Linked DNA regions of Homo sapiens: region 1 is linked to region 2. Evidence: promoter capture Hi-C in human tissues and cell types (Jung and others, 2019). All regions are on one chromosome and are shown on one strand. The core of a region is centred on a gene start or on the middle of the fragment in contact, and the rest is flanking DNA. Distances in the headings are between cores, read along the strand shown. Region 1 overlaps B4GALT5 (beta-1,4-galactosyltransferase 5). Region 2 holds the start of B4GALT5 (beta-1,4-galactosyltransferase 5).

What was found. Contacts are between HindIII fragments. The study calls those that stand out against the background at their distance.
Region 1: a fragment that was not itself captured here is called in contact with the fragment with the promoter of B4GALT5 in region 2 in 2 of the 25 tissues and cell types used here (bladder and liver).

The regions. Positions count from the first base shown.
Region 1 is chr20:49,669,931-49,672,640 of GRCh38, forward strand. All of the region lies in intron 1 of B4GALT5 (beta-1,4-galactosyltransferase 5), which reads right to left. Among named protein-coding and RNA genes, the nearest start is that of B4GALT5, 43 kb to the right of the region's middle. The HindIII fragment of the contact is 5,680 bases long and covers 1-2,710 here.
Region 2 is chr20:49,712,623-49,715,322 of GRCh38, forward strand. It overlaps B4GALT5 (beta-1,4-galactosyltransferase 5), which reads right to left and starts at 1,256. Exons shown (of 9, transcript NM_004776.4): 1 at 954-1,256. The coding sequence starts at 1,068. RefSeq lists silencers at 729-848, 1,139-1,468. The HindIII fragment of the contact is 30,885 bases long and covers 1-2,700 here.

The DNA.
Region 1 (2,710 bases), core at 117-2,616, 43 kb before region 2:
AATGCTCATACCTTCTGAGCTAGCAAAGTATCCTAAATATGAGGCTATTCTATGCACAAAGTTTTTACTTACATTATTTCTAAAAGCAAAATCTTGGGAAACAACTCAAAATCAACAACCAGCAGCTCTCAGTGCTGCTCTGCCTGTGGAGTAGCCAGTTTCTTTTCTTCTCTAATAAACTTGCTTTCACTTACTAAAACAACAGCACATAAACTGTGACACAAAACTTGACGGAATCTTACACATCTTTAAAAGTGAAAACTATGCAACCTTATCACCATACACCTTATGTATAATATTTAGCATAGACTATCACATTTTTAACAACATGAAAAAAGTTCTGCTATATCTTGACAACTATTGCTAAGGAATAAGAACATGTATCAGGCTAAAACAGACTTGAGGCAAATTTACCAACCTGCTTTGCTGTTAGGGAGTAACAGTGATGTGAGATGACCTTTTTTCCTTCTGTTTTACCAATGTTCTTTACAACAGTAATGATTTATTTTTTTGAGACAGGGTCTTACTATGTTGCCCAGGCTGGTCTCAAATTCCTGAGCTCAAGAGATCTTCATGCCTTAGCTCCCAAGCAGCTGGGACTACAGGCATGCATCATGGTGTCTGACTGAGTGAGGGTTTAAAAGAATGCAATTCTATAGCAAAAAGTTGAATTTCTTCAACACTGAACTGCTATCTGCCTACAACTAAGTTTCTTCTAACCCTTTGCAAACATGTAACGTAAAATTTTAAGTTGACACTACAAACTGCTTGTCTAAATGAGTCAAAAGACTGATACCTGTTCTACCAAAGCCTCACCAACATTCAGAGGCTTTGGTGGAACAGGTATCCCACACCTTGTTGATGGAAACAAATTGATATAACCTCTAGAGAGGTTGGCAATACAGATCAAAGTGAAATGTTCATACTCTAACCCAGTAGTTCCTACTTTCAGGTATTCATCCTAAAGAAATAATTGGATAAATAACAAATGTGTTCAATACTGTTTATCTCAGTGCTACTTATAAAAGCAAAACTCCAACCTATCTATGCACCAAAAGGGTCTGGAAAAAAAATTATGGCAAAATCAGACCATGACTAACTCAGCTATCACTGAAATAATGATTATTGTTTTAGAAGTACTCACTATTTAAAAATCATACCGTGCAGGCCAGGCACGGTGGCTCATGCCTATAATCCCAGCACTTTGGGAGGCCAAGGTGGGCGGATCACCTGAGGTCAGGAGTTCAAGATCAGCCTGGTCAACATGGCGAAACCCCATCTCTACAAAAAATACAAAAATTAACCGGGTGTGGTGGTGCATGCCTGTAACCCCAGCTACTCAGGAGGCTGAGGTGGATCACTTGAACTTGGGAAGCAGAGGTTGTGGTGAGTTGAAATCATGCCACTACACTCCAGCCTGAGTGACAGAGTGAGACTCTGTCTCAAAAAATAATAATTTTCTGAGATTATGTCTGCATTTGTGCTAAATAATTTACGCTAGGAGCAGTAATAAAAGCAGAGATGAAGCTATTGATTCAAGACGGTATATACATTGTATATATACTACATACAGTATATCACATTTGTGTTAAAGACACAAAGGAAAATATAAGCCTAGAACAGTTTTAGAAATCACTTATCAAGATGTTCAGTGTTTTTTATCTCTGTGTGGCAGAATTACAGGTCATCTGGGTTGTCTTTTCTTTGTTACAATGCAACATTTCCATGAACATCAGAACCCTGTAAGATAAGGAGGTTCTCTGTTCCACTAGTGAAAAACTGCAGTAACCAAATCTGTTTAAATCAACTGACCCAAAATTTCAAAGTTTCCAAAGTTACTGAGAACCCCTTTTCACACAGCATCTACTTTATGAGCACCCTTTAGGAATGCTGCCTTTGGGCAGGGTCTTTTTCTTTTCATTTTTTTTTAAAACAATAATCAATAAATTTTTGTATGGGGTCGGGGGAAGCACAAAAACACAACCTTCTGCCTTAGTAAGAGATTCCTCCCCTCTTCATTGCTCCAGACCCTAATAATTCCCCTAATCTCAAACTGTTATTCTACCCCCAAATTATCCTACCCCAAATGATTCATAATGATCCTAAAGCTCTTGGTGCTTCTAGCTTTAACTTCATCAAGCAAGTTTCCTCTATCTAGCCTACCATCCAAACATATTCTTCCACATACTGTTCTTTGGTCTCCCTCCTGATTCTCTTTTGGAAAGATTATTCTTCATGTCCTATGGGGATAATATATTTTAATCACATTATTGTTAGCCTGGAAGCTTGTAACAGACTAATGGGTTATCTACTCGTTGGGAATTTAAGTGCTTCCAAGAAGGCAGCATTCCAACTGGTATTAACACCCAAACTGTCAAACATAGGAAATCAGAGCCATGCTTTCCATAAAAAGGCAAAAGATGCCAGAGAAAGCACTTGAAAATTTCTAGCTTCTAAGGCACACACACTTAGCAAAACAAAGTCTTTCCTTAACACCTTGTGGGTAATGAAACCCTTCCTCTCCTCCAGATGGCTTGTCTTTTGCATATATCAACTTGTAGTCCTAGAAACGGGTTCTCTGGGCCATGCAGAATGCTGGATTATTTTTCTGTCATCTATTATGACAGACAGACTCTGTCACTTGATCAGACATAAACTTTTCTTTCTTTAGCTAAGTAATGTTCACATTTTAAAGCAATTCAAGACCCAA
Region 2 (2,700 bases), core at 6-2,505:
ACAATTTAAACTTCTCCTTTGTCCGCAGAGCAGGCACTATCCAATACTGAAGAACCACACCATCTACCCTCAAGGCTAGGAGAGGGCAGAAGTGGAAGAAAGAACACAGACAGCACCCCTTCCCCAGGTCTTCAGTTGAGAAAGAAGCTGTGGCTGAAAGTCTGGGGGGCTGGGGGCAAAGGTGACAAGGATGTGCCCTTGTGGGTACGCGAGGTGGGGGGGGGGGAGATGGGGAAGAGGCATGGGACGCTCAGGGGATTAGCAGGAGATTGAATGGGGGTGGACCTCTGTAAGGGGAAGGGGGGTGCCACCGGCAGGCAGAGAGATCAGGCCACTGAAGAGGTGAACGTGAGTTAGGGAGGAGGACCTGGAGGTGGATGTAATAGGGGAAGTAGAGGAAGAAAGGGGAGGGAGGGGGCTCACGGGAGCAGGAAACGATGGAGTCATGGGGAGTGGGGGAGGATGGATGGGAGCTAGAAGGTGGGGCGGCCTGGGACCCGGGCACATGGGCTCGGCGAAGAGCGGGCGCGCCGCGGGGGACTGGGGTGCGGGGAATGCCGGGAATGGGGGTTCGAGGAGACCCCGGGGAAGGGAAGGGGAAGCGGGAGTTCTCGAGCAGAGGAGCGGGAAGTGGGAGTTCCAGCGAGGCAAGAGCGGGAAGGGGGTTCCGGAGCAAGGGGCGGGCGTGAAGGTACAGTCGGGTTCGCGAGGGTGGCGTTAGGAGGGGCGGGGTGGGCCGGAGGCTGGCGCGGGAGAGGGATCCCGGGCGCCTGTTGGGGTGCGGAGGGCAGGAATGTCCTGGCGTCCCCGAGAGCCGGGCCAGGACTCCGGAGTCTTCGGAGGACCAGGCTCAGGGCCGCCTCCCGGCCGGGGCCCCTTAGGGAGGGGCGGGGATTCCCCGGGTCCCTCAAGGCCAGAGCGGCAGCCGCCGCGGTCCCAAGCCCCCTTCCTACCTATGCCGGGCGCCACATAGACGAAGTACAGCAGCGAGGACGAGAGAGAAAAGAAGAAGAGCGCGGCGAGCAGCGAGCGGCGCGGCAGCCGCAGCAGCCCCCGGCGGGCGCGCATGCTGCAGCCAGGCGGCCGCTAGAGAGCCAGGCCGGGCCTGCTCCCGCAGCTCCCCGTCCGCCGCCTCCTGGGCCGCCGCCGCCACCGCCTGGGCCTCGGCCACCGCCTCCCGGGCCTCGCGGGCCGCCACTCGCCGCCGCCGCCGCCTCGCCGCTCCCAGCCGCCGGCCGTCGCGGGCCGGGCCACATGAAGCGGGCGGGGGCCAGAGCGGCCCCGAGCGGGCGCAGCGGCGGGGGCGGAGGCGGGGCGCACGCGCGGGAGGCGGGGCCAGTGCCGCCGGGCACCGTCGCAAAAGACCCGCGCGCTTGCGCTCGCCGCCGACCCTCGCTCGGCGCCCACAGCAGCCCGCATGGAGTAATCGCCAAATGGCGACAGACCCTCTCCCAGTGCGGCCACCGCCCAGGCTTTCGGGGAATGTCTCCCAAGTGCTCCGCGCTAGCTCGTCCCCCATCTCGGGGGCCAAGGGGCCATCTACAAAGTCTGACTCATCTCGTTGCCCACTGCAGCAGAAGAGTGGGGACTGCAAGGCTTGGGGGTTCGGCCTGGTATACACCCTCATTCATTCATTCATTCATTCATTCAATTCACCATTTATTTATTGAATGCCAGACACAGTTGTTGGCGCTGGGCATGCTACAGAGAAAAAAAACGATAAAAATCTCTGTCTACTTGAAACTTACATTATGTGAGAGATAAAAGAAACAAATCAGCTAGTAATATCAGGTACTGGTAACACATATGAATACGATAAAACAGGAGGATGTATTGCAGGCAGGCTGGAGTGGTCAAGGAAGGCCTCACTGAGCAGTGACACGAACTGAGATATAAAAGGGTGAGAAAGCGCCAGCTTTTTTGAATAAGCTGGGGAAAAAGCAGTCATACCAGGGGGAACAGCAGGTGTAAAGGCCCTGAGGTAGGAAAAGGGCTGATCTGCCCCCGAGTTGAATCCAAGGCCAACATGGATAAAATCCAGTGAAGTAGGGGGGGAAATAGGGATGAGCTTGGAGCTGTAGTCAGGGATCCTACTGTATCAGAAATAGCATAATGATAACAATTGTCAATGTCTCTAGACTTCTGCTGAGAAACATGGACTTCACTCATGCCATGAAATTCCCCCACCAGTCTTGAGATGTGTGCTGTTATTATTACTATCATACAAATGAGGAAACTGAGGTTTCTAGATGGAAAGGCAATTCACCCAAGCCTTGCAGTAAGGGCTTAAATCAAAACTGGCCTGTCTCCCATGTCAGGCCCTTGACCTCTAGGTTGTAACTGTCTCAGCAGTCTGTATGACCTCTAATTCTTATCCTGCAGGCAAATCGGTATCCTATCCCCATCACCTGGGTATGGGACCATATCCAAAAAAATGCTTTCAGATCAGCATCAGCTCAAAGGACCTCAGAAGGCAATGAACAGTCCTAGAAATTTATGGCAAGAAGCAGTAGCCTCAAGGAGCTGGACTGAGGAGGCCAGTGTCCCTGTGTAGACATATCTGAAACTAGGGTACTGTCTTGGAATGCCAGAAGCAGTGGGGAGGGGAGAGGACTTTGCAGGGATTCTGTGAGAATCAACAATAATTCTGATTTATATTCCTAAAGTGATTTCTACTTTTTACAGTGTTTCTTTGATCCT